Linked DNA regions of Homo sapiens: region 1 is linked to region 2. Evidence: promoter capture Hi-C in human tissues and cell types (Jung and others, 2019). All regions are on one chromosome and are shown on one strand. The core of a region is centred on a gene start or on the middle of the fragment in contact, and the rest is flanking DNA. Distances in the headings are between cores, read along the strand shown. Region 1 has its middle 160 kb from the start of LINC02225. Region 2 holds the start of ACTBL2 (actin beta like 2).

Region 1 (5,949 bases), core at 998-3,497, 260 kb after region 2:
AATACAGAGGTGCTTCTCTCTTGCCCCAAAAACTTTTCCCTGTTCTACTCCCATCAGTCAACCTTCTCTGTATTCTATGAGATCCTAAACCATTAGAATCCTAGGCTTTGTTTTCTCCTTTCTCATTTGTCATATTATTTGACAAGGCGGCACACTCAATTTTCCAACCTTTTTATTGTCTTTTGTTCAACAGTGCTACATTCTAGCCTGGGTCTCAAAATCCTTCTCCTTGCTTTGCTTTCTCTAGGCTGCTGCCCTTCTTGCTAATTTTTTGATCTTCTCAACTGTACAAAGGTCATCTGTCTGTTGCACTATCCAAGTCAATTTGTGCAGTGAGTAAAGACGCAGAGTCTCTGTTAGAGCTCTCAGGTTTCTGTGTTCAAGAATGCTGGGCCAGTAGGCTGTCTTTTAGAGTGAGACAGTGAAGCAAATAATTCCCCAGGATGTTTTCTGAGATTCCATTGTTAAACTCCAGTTTTTCATTAATGGCTCTAAATGGTCATTATTGCAATTAAAAAAATTTTTCCCTGTGGTTATGTGTGTGTGTGTGCACGCATGTGTGTGTAGGGCCAGAGTAGTGCATTGGGGATATGAGATTTGAGGGTGAGAACTTTGCCTTGAAGATTTTTAGGTTCTGAAGGCAAAATCTAAAATTAAGGGATCTTACAAGAAAGAAAAACTATAGAAGGCAACCATAAGTTATAGATTTCTGGGGCAATCCAGTATTCATTTGTGATTCACTCAATACACATTTACTGAGACCTTATCTGCACCAGTCACCCTAGACATTGAGCAGTAAGATGCATGCCCTACCCTGAAGATGCAACTGTTTCCAGACAAACAGCCTATTCAATATGATGCAATGACTTCTGTAGTGGAAATATTTGCAAAATACTGTAGTAGCGTAAGCATTAGATTGTAAACTGATTGAGGGCAGAGCCTGGGTCAAATTTACCTTTGTGACCTCAGCATCTAGCTCAGGTTTTGGCACATAGTACATGCTTGATTTATATTTAATGATTGATTGAATGAATAAATATTTTCCCCTATGTGTCTGCCTATATCAACCATTTCTCTCCTGTTATTCTGATACATGGCTTCCCATTTTGATATGCAGCTTTTTGTCTGTGAGAGTGCTTTACCAATGTTTTGTATGTCTACTATATTCCAGTCTTTATTGGGCACCTACTTTTATATCAATGATACTCATTGATGAATAACATGTACATATATCAAAACATCTCACTATACCCCATGAATATATACAATTATTTGTCTATTAAAACATATATTTTAAAAAACCAATAGTTTTTAGATGCCACGTGCTTCAGGTGACTTTCACACGTTAAGTCTCACATTTGGTTGGGATGACATAAGAAGTCAAAAGGAACTAATTCCCTGTACCTTGGGTCACTTTTTAAAAGGAAAAAAATAAAGAAAACAAACCCAAATTCCAGTGTCATTAATGCCAATGTAAAGTGAAGCTTTTTCCTTGATGAAAGGGCCATGTATTTTGGGTCACATAACAAAGAGCAACATTCTATCCTTCCCCTGATTTTGAAATTATAAAATATTTCTTCTGTGTTTTATAAATACAGAAGACTAGACACAGTATAAGTAATAACAAAATGATCATCACGTCAGCTTAGACACGGCAAATGTGTCCTGCATAGCCCATCTCCCTCCCTCTGGGCCTCTGCTTCATTGCGTGGCCTTCCTCCTACTCAAGGGCACTCAGTACTCTGCAGGTGGAGCATGGAAGATGAGTCCTGGTGTACTTATAAATGGAAAACCATAGAGTAGCAAAATAGAATAAATGGTCACTTCATACACGCACATGACTGACTCTCAGAAACACACTGTCAAATAAATAAAACAAGTCACAGAATATACATAATATGACACCATTTACATTAGCTCAAATTTCAAAATCATATAAAATGTAATCATATGTCATTTGGAGATGCTTAAACAAGCAGTAAAATGATAATGAAAAACAGGAAATAATCATTTTTAAGGACTGTTTCTTTCTTTAAAGCTTTCTTTGATCCTTTAAAATATATTGATGGTCACTGGGTCACATTCATGCAAACAGGAAGAAGAAACCTTTATTCATTATGCTGGATGAATGAATTGGGTGGGATTCCTATGGACAAATTAAATGAAAGCTTAGTAGCTTAAGAAATTATTCACCTATCATTTGGCTTTTGCCTCAACTTTAAGAAACATCACAGGGTGTTTTACTTACTACAGTCTTTACAGTGGTGCTATGAAGCTTAAATATCAAGCTGAAGGCCCCAGTGACTGATTTTCACTTTTGCTCATTACATTTGCAGTGAACATCCTAAGTAACGAAGTAACTAGCTAAAGTAAGCTTTTACTAGTAATAGTGTGACAGACATAGAGGAAATACCAAATGAATCACAAATAGGCTAAAGCAGAAGAACACAGATTATCAGCTCAGTGTAAATTATAAACTTTGGGGCAATAAAAAGCCATAGTTAAAGTTTAAAATATTTAAATGCCAGGCTCTGTGATGTGTCCTTTTCTTATTTAATCTTTATGTGGCGCCTTTAAGTTAGGCATTATTATCCTGGATTTACGAAGGTTTGCAAAGGAGGACATTGATACTTACAGGGATTAACATCGCATGTCAAAAGTCATAAGACTGTTACTTGACAAGGCTGGGATTTGAATGCAGGTTCATTTGACTCCTAACTTCTTGCTTTTTCCACAATGTTATTAATGCTGCTTATCAAAAAGAAATAAGATAAGCTTTATCTTAGGTATGTGGGGTCTCGACACATCCTATTCAAATTATCATGTGGATAGGAAGCTATTATCAATGTAAAACAATTATATTTATCCATCATAGCGTGTAACCCTGAGACCTGGAAATTTAGGGGACAGAGAATGGGATGTGGAGTCAGAATACTTAAGTTTGAGCTCTTGTTTAAGTATTGGTTGGGGTCATGATGACACATTAAAAACTTGATTCCCAGTATACCTACCTGTACACTGACAGTAATAATGCCTTCTCTTATTTCTTGTTTGTTTATTCCTTCACTTTTAGCCTAATTTCCACTTTCATTTCCTTCCTCCTTACTCCCATAAGCAACCATTCTAATGTGTTTGATTGATGCTCATCTTTTAATTTGTAATTATTCTTATAAAATGTGAATTAAAATGTTGTGTGTGTGTGGTTGCCATTAGGGCTCTCTACCTATATATTCCAGTTTCTTTCCTTCCAGTTAGGATCACAATTATCTACTTTTTTGAGGTTGGCCATGGCCATTTGACTTGTTTTGGCAATGAAATGTCAGTGTAATTGATGGGTGTCATTTCTGAGTGGATGCCTTTAAAAGCCAGGATATGATTCACCATATTTTCTTGCCCTTACTACAGTGACCAATGGTATTATTTAAAAATGTATTACCTGGCACATACTTACACTAAAAAAGTATTTGCTTATCTGAAATTCAAAATTACCCAAGTGTCCTATGTTTTATTTGGCAATCCTATCTCCAGCAAAATCTTGTAGTTGTTACATTTTAGGGTTTCAAGATAACCTAATAGCAATAAAATCATTTACTATGTTCAATGTTATTTCAGAATTTAAAGCTTGTACCTCAGTAGCATTTTTATTTAATGTCATTGTTTAGAACATGTGCAGGGATGTGAAGCAAAGATTGGACAAGTGAAACGTTTGTCAAAGGGGTGTTAAATAGTGTCTTAGTTGGCTCAAGCTGCAATGTCTTACTCTGTTTTGGCTGTTATAACAAAATACCATAAGTTGAGTGTCTTATAAACAATGGAAATTTATTTCTTACAGTTCTGGAGGCAGGAAAGTCCAAGATCAAGGTGCTAACAGATTCGGTTAGATTCTTGTTCACAGGCGGCATCTTCTTTTTGTCTCCTCCTATGACAGAAGGGGCTACCTCCTTCAGGCTTCTTTTTTAAGGGCACTAATTCCATTCATGAGGACTCTGCTGTCATGAACCAGTCACCTTACAAAGGTCCTGTCACTTAAAATTATCACATTGGGGGTTAATATTTAAACATATGAGTTTAGGATACACACAAACATTTGGACCATAGCAAATAGTAACCTATGCATTTGATGCCTCTGACCTAATGGGTCTTAAAGAAGCCGATTATGCAGAAGGCATTTTAAAAAATTATAATTTCCACTTTTAATTTAAATTCAGAGGGTACGTGTGCACATTTGTTACATGGGTATATTGTGTGATGCTGAGGTTTTGGGTTTGATTGATACCATCACCCAGGTTGTGAGCATAGTGCGCAATGGTTAGATTTCAACCCTATTACCCCTCCCTCCTTCCCCCCTCTAATAGTTCCTAGTGGTTATTATTGCCATCGTTATATCCACAAGTATGCAGTGTTTAGCTCCCACTTATAAGTGAGAACATCAGAAGGCCTTATTATAAGGACAGGGTGTGGCTATAAAGTCTGAAAACATGTTATTGATCATGTCATCTAAAATAATGTAATAGCAATAAACTACTTGTTAGCTACATTTGTTTATGTTTTCAGACTTTGTGACTATCTTATAATTTCTCTGCTCTTCAGATTAAAAAAGAAACAGGACCTAAGCTTCAAACAGTTTAATCTTATTCTGTCAAAATTTCTCCCCTTCTTAGTGAAGTTCCTAAAGTACCTGCATAGAGGAGAAGGCAAAGGAAATGTGTGCTATTACTATAAGGCTTTTGCCTCAAATCTTAGTCTAGCCTCTTGGTGAGAAGGACTGGACCACATAAAAGTCTCATTTTTCCTAGATCAGTCAAGCTGAGCATATTGGTTACCTCGAAGCTAGTATCAAAGTTCTTCCTTTCCTAGCATTCCAGTGCAAGGAAAGATAAGCCAAAGGAAAGGAGAAAAAAATAAACCAGGATTCCTAGAACAGAGCTGATCTCTGCTCTCCAGGCGAAGCCCTCTCATTGCAGCACAGGGGTCCATGTTAGCACTTCAGCTGCCTAGGACAGAGTCCAGAGGGAAGAGATAGCACAGCACCAGAGCCTTGGGAACTTGGCTTCTCTGGTCCTTCACATAAAAAAACTCCAAATGACCAGCACCTGACATTGTTTCCCATGGGTGGCAAAACATTTATTTAACATCAAACTATATGTTTGTATCATATTTTTTCAATTCAAAGAGACCCTAGACGCAAGTATGATGCACATAAAATTTACTATGTTTTTCAAGGTAAAAAAGAAGTAGTACATTAAATGTATACATTAACTATAAAATCAAACTCAATTTCTCAACTGTTTTGTGAAGGGGCACAAATGATATTGGAAACAAGGAAGAGGGGAATACACTCACATATTTTTCTCATAGTTACCAGTACTGTGCTTCTTCAGAGTGGGATGGAGAAGAGGAGGTGGAAAGAGTGGGGAGAGAAAAGGTGTTGAGGGCTTCTGCTGGGAGATGCACTATCATGAGGAAACACACTGGAGGCCTTGGTGTGTCCTGGTGGTAAGTAGGGGGTAAGGGAGGAAGCACTCTCTTTCTTCATTTGTTTACTTCTAGTGTTTATGGAGCTCTAATTATCCACCAGGCAATCTAGTTGCTGATGCTACAGTGGTGAAACAGTCGTCTTACTATAGGCTGCCATTCTGGTGGTGGGAGACCAAAAATACAAAATCATTTTTAAAAGGCACTGTACTTTTTCATAGCAATAAGAAAAACTGTTTAAAAACACAGATTTAGCAGAATAAAAAGAGGATTAAAATGTCAGTATTACAAAGAGCCTCTAACTATGGCCAAGGGACATCTTCTGCTGATAAATAAGCAAGGTACCTATTTCCTTTATTTTGTTACTGTGAGTGTCCACTGGTAGAATGCACTGGGTCCATTCCAGTAAGCAGGGCAGCCTTTACTTACTTCTGTAAGTCTACATTTATCCCAAGCAGACCATGTTCCAAAGAT
Region 2 (5,765 bases), core at 2,768-5,267:
GGACTACTGTAGCTCACTATTGAAAAATAAGCACATTTATATGTTAGGAAAGAAGAGTAGAAGAGTGTCGGAACTGGCATTGGATCAGTCATGTTTTCAGAAAAATATTACCTGTGATTGGGAAATAACAGTGTGCAGGGAATTGTGATACAGCCCTGGCCTTATATTGCTACTCAGGAGGCATCACAGAGGGAGAATGAAAATCATTTACAGAGGTATGAAATTAATCTGAGAAGGCTGCTTCAGTGATGTCTCATCCTCAGAGGAAGATGGATGAAGCAAGTGTCTGGAGACCTTTCCTGTCCATGGAGCCTGTAATGTGCTGGGATTTTGAATTCTGTGGAGCTGTAATTCCTCTAGTTGGCTGTGCATTCAGATTTTTAGTGCTCATTCTAGACCCACTGCTCTGAGCCCAGGGCCAGGGACCCTATATTTATATAAAGTTCTCTAAATAACTTGGTTGATGAGCCAGGCTAATGATACATGAATAGCATGTTAATCGTATTACCTATGTAGATGTCATTCTTTGATTCTAAAATATAAAGTTGTGAAACAGGCTGTTTCTTCATTAAACTCATCCATAAGTCAGTCAATGTTGATAAAGAGAAGAATATCCCACAACTCTAGGTTTAAGTTTCTGGCATTTTACCAACTTGTTATCTAGAAATTGTAGATTTTATATATAATAAACTCTTAAATTACCACAGTAATTCAAGATTTATAATGCGTAGTTTGCATTATGGGGCTCATATTTTCACCTAATGTTGTGGGGCTCTATAGCTCACTCTCTTGTAAGTTCACATTACCTGTCCCATTTATAGTCTGTGGGTGGGAAGTCATATTTTTTTTTTTTTGGTAATTCAGAATGCAGGTCAGAATGTTTGTGAGAACTACTCACTCTGCAAATGGAATGCATTGCAGCATATAAATCCAAAATATTATGATTATTATTGTTGATGTTGTCTCTGCCTATTAATTACCTGAAGATCAGTTCATCCAGTAAAACCCAGCTTTAAAATTTAGATTATGAGACATCTATATAATGTTAAATGGCTAGCTATCCTTTTTTTAAAATTTGCCTTTTAATGTTTACATGATTAAATGTATGAGGTGCAAAATTGTAACATACAGATGAATAGGTCACACATATAAAAAGAGATGCTATCTGGATCATTCTCTAATTCTAAGGGAATGGTTGAGGAGAAATAACAGGAAATCTAAGTATACAAGTATGAAGCAATTTTAATGTACTGAAAGCAAGTTATATAAAATAAAGTGTTTTTGGAGATTAATTTTGGTTACATGCATTTTAAAGATTATGTTGTCAGATAAAGCCAATAAGGAATAATCAAATTATTTGAAAAGTATTACCTTAAACAAAAAATTCTTACTGATTCCATTTTAAAGATTTATAACATAAGTACAAGTTTCCCAACTAAGAAAAAAAGAGAAGTGATTCCTTCCTCCAGAGTACCTTATAATGCCTGAATAAGCAATCCAAATAAATATTTTAAATTTTCAGAAATTACCCTGAAAAATACAAATAATGCTGATATCCAAATATTCAGAAATCACTGCATAGATTGGAATAAACATACTGGTACTTAAAATTGGTTAATAAATCATCACTGGAGTAACTAAAATATTTTAGACATTATAGGAACATACATTGATATTTTCAAAGATGTTAGTATCTCAGAGACACTTTGCATAAATAAGTATTGCTAGTTACTGGACATAATAAAGTAGAATTATTCTAAAAGCTTTCCAAGGATAAAACTGTGTTAGTATACTGGTAGTAAAATGTATAATTAATAAAGATGCTGCAGCTATATTTTCCCACAGTGAAATCCTTGCACAAGAGAAGTATCTGTAATCCTGGTCTACAGAAATTATTTAAGATGTGCTATTACACTAAGAAATAGAAATAAAATTACCTCTGTCAAATTGTACCATAATGACATTAATTTGATATTATAATATCTATCTCTCTTAAGAATTAGACATTGTCTGTAGTTTTGGTATGAGAAGGTTCAGTAAGAAAGATATTAAAATATAATTTGACCAGCAGAACTCCACTATGAGCTGAAAATTTAGATGATTTATAAACATTAATGGAATGGTGGCTGTCTCATTATGCTTATTTAGTAAGGGAAACAATTAAAATATGTACCTAGTACAACGATGACTTTTGGGAGTAAAGAAATTCACATTAGCTGTTCAGATAGCTAGATACATCAGCATATTTCACAATATATTTTATTTCCCTGGTGCTTATGTATATATGGATATTATTGAACTTTATAATTCATTATCTCCATACAAAGAAGTAAACAAAACAAAGATACTTAACTAGTAAGACACGGCTGCTAAATGCATACGCACCTTTTTTTTTTAAACAAGTTTATACAGCCTGTTCTTGTTAAATATTTTAGCGAGAACTAAGTTTTAAAGCTTGATAATTATAGTTATCCATTCTGAAATGACATTTCTCGTGATTTTACTCCTTGTCACTTATATGTATTTAAGCTGGCCTACCTATCTTTGAACAGTATAGGCAAAGAAAAAGGAATATGGTATTAGAATTCACCTTCACTTGATGGAGAACCGGATGTGGTTATCTGGGTAAGAGCCCAGGTTACTTGGATGGAGAGATGGGTTTGCTGGTTTACACTAGGAAGAGTGACGTATTTACCTCGATTCTACTGAAAGCGGATAAAAGCAGTACCATCACTGTGACCTAGGAAAAGGGAAAATGTAAGCCCACTAATATGGAAGCCCATTCAGAAACATTTTCTGTGAACGATAGGAGGACCAGCCTCATCATATTCCTGCTTACTGATCCACATCTGCTGGAATGTGGACAGGCTGGCAAGGATGGAGCCCCCAATCCAAACAGAATACTTCCGCTCTGGGGGAGCTATGATCTTGATTTTCATGGTGCTGGGTGCCAGGGTTATGATTTCTTTCTGCATCCTGTCAGCAATGCCTGGGTACATGGTGCTCCCTCCAGATAACACGGTGTTGGCATAGAGATCCTTGCGAATATCCACATCGCACTTCATGATAGAGTTGAAGGTTGTCTCATGGATCCCACTGGACTCAATGCCCAGAAAGGAAGGCTGGAAAATGGCTTCAGGGCATCGGAAGCGTTCATTCCCAATGGTGATCACCTGCCCATCAGGAAGTTCATAGCTCCGTTCCGGTGAGGAGGATGCGGCTGCCCTGACCATCTCCTGCTCAAAGTCCAGGGCTACGTAGCACAGCTTCTCTTTGACATCTCGCACAATCTCCCGCTCAGCAGTGGTGGTGAAGTTATAGCCTCGCTCTGTCAGGATCTTCATGAGGTAATCAGTCAGGTCTCTCCCTGCCAGATCCAGGCGTAGAATGGCATGAGGCAGGGCATAACCTTCATAGATGGGCACGATGTGAGTGACCCCATCCCCAGAATCCATCACGATGCCTGTGGTCCGTCCTGAGGCATAGAGGGACAGCACAGCCTGGATGGCGACATACATGGCTGGTGTGTTGAAAGCCTCGAACATGATCTGAGTCATCTTTTCCCGGTTGATCTTGGGGTTCAGGGGTGCCTCGGTGAGGAGGATGGGATGCTCATCTGGTGCCACACGGAGCTCATTGTAGAATGTGTGGTACCAGATCTTTTCCATATCGTCCCAGTTGGTGACCACTCCATGCTCGATAGGATACTTCAGGGTCAGGACGCCTCTCTTGCTCTGAGCCTCATCTCCCACGTAGCAGTCCTTCTGGCCCATGCCTACCATAACGCCCTGGTGTCGAGGACGCCCTATCATGGAGGGGAACACAGCCCGGGGGGCATCGTCACCACCAAAGCCTGCCTTGCACATCCCTGACCCATTATCCACTACCAAGGCAGACAGCTCATTGTCAGTCATGGTGCTGGCTGAGATCTTCCAGACGAGTGAACAGGACAAGTGAATAGACAGTGAGTAAGAGAAAGTGAACAGGCCTAAAACACTCCAGAAATGCTTTCAGACACGGGAGGCTGCACCGGGACCACAGGTATTTAAAGGAACACACTGACTCCGCCCATGTCCTACTCCACCAGTTCCCAGCATTTCTGGATGAGGTCATCTCTGAGGTATTAATGATGGTGATGATTACATAAACAATTAGATCTTTCTACATAAAGAGAAAATTGGCTGCCAAGTGGTCAAATCTCAGGTTCCTGTAATTAGGCAACCCACACATGACCGTCAGCCTGCCTGGTGAGGTCTCTAGATAACTATGATGATGCAGTGGGGGATATAAAAGCAAGATGAAAGAAAGCTGGTGCTAGGTATGGCAACACTGCTGGGAGGAAGGCTCCCTCCTTAGCGTCCCTGAGGATTCACTTTTCCTACACTAGCTTACCTTTTCATTCTTAAGATACTGTTCTGATGAGGGGTCTTACCCTGCAATCTTCACTTTTTCAAGATTTTTGTTTCCATTAGATTCCTAATCCCACAGGGTGTCATCATCGTAGAGACTGTTTTAGTAAATGAAAATAATAAATGGCTAAGGATGGCCTGATGGCTGTAATTACAATGCACTTGTGTCAAGCAAAATGTAGAGATATTTAATAGACTTCTAATCCATCAGAGATCAAGCGAAAGGAATAGAATGATTGCTAAAGTTAACCCATATAGATACTTTTTTCTGATATAAATTTCTAACAACCAAATTTCATTAAACATTTACTGTGTCTAGACATTGTTCATAGAACCAGGTTCATTGGGTCCATGTTAATTGTATAATGACTGAATGTCAACTATTTTGCATGATTTATTAAGATGCAGGTTATAAAAATTTATTTATTTGCAACAACTCTTGAGTTCTGCAACAATGGACAAAATGAAGTGATAAGACAAATTTGAAAAATTATATATTTAAACTAATCCTTAAAACATTTTGATCTTCAAGATACATATACTATATTATAACATTAAACCTCTATGTAGTTATTAAAATCTATACAATTAGAATTATACTAGCTTTCCTTCCATTTCAAGATATATTACACCCTGATCACTTCATAGCAACAATTTGTTTGGGTTCCATGTTTCATATAGAAATACAGACTACCTGAAAAGATGTGTATGATGGTAAAATGTAGGACATCAGCAATGTGTTACAGAGAAATAGCATTTAAGAAAGCTCATTACTTCTGCTCCCCTATGTGTTAGGCGAATAGAATATAATTATCTTTGTGAGCTCTTGTAAAGCAAAGAAATTTTCCATGTCTACATCTGAGTTCTCCAAAATAATCTTTATTTGGGTTCATCATTCATTCATTTACCCAATAAAGCTTGCTTTGTAAGAGGTAGCACAGCCCCTATTTACTGGACAAAAAACACCCTCCAGCTCAAGGCCAGGAGAACTAACCTGAGTCTTTGCCCAGTGAGCCTCTTGGAGAGTCATGGTGTAGCATCAAGCTGTGAGCATCCAGCCCTCTTCTTTGTCTATAGCTTGATATAGATTTATTTTATCCAGTGCTGTAATATGCCTTCAAAACCTTTCTGGTGACAATCAGTCATGGCAGAATGTATGTTTCATCACAAGATCCATGGTTTTGCTTTAGGGCTCACCAAAACAGTCCTTTCCTTTAATCTTTTCTGTAACTGCAAAATTCCTTCTTCAACAGTGTTAAAAACCTTCACACTGAATGGTTTTATGAACTTCCTTGTTATGTAGTACAACCAAGCTTTTGATTAAAACAACATTTTATTGCTATAGGATGGTGCTTC

Evidence for each region. Contacts are between HindIII fragments. The study calls those that stand out against the background at their distance.
Region 1: a fragment that was not itself captured here is called in contact with the fragment with the promoter of ACTBL2 in region 2 in 1 of the 25 tissues and cell types used here (dorsolateral prefrontal cortex).

The regions. Positions count from the first base shown.
Region 1 is chr5:57,738,158-57,744,106 of GRCh38, forward strand. No RefSeq gene overlaps it. Among named protein-coding and RNA genes, the nearest start is that of LINC02225, 160 kb to the right of the region's middle. The HindIII fragment of the contact is 3,739 bases long and covers 379-4,117 here.
Region 2 is chr5:57,478,794-57,484,558 of GRCh38, forward strand. It overlaps ACTBL2 (actin beta like 2), which reads right to left and starts at 4,018. Exons shown (of 1, transcript NM_001017992.4): 1 at 1,225-4,018. The coding sequence starts at 3,914. The coding sequence ends at 2,784. The region is part of intron 1 of RMEL3 (enriched in melanoma 3); the gene reads left to right. The HindIII fragment of the contact is 3,416 bases long and covers 2,109-5,524 here.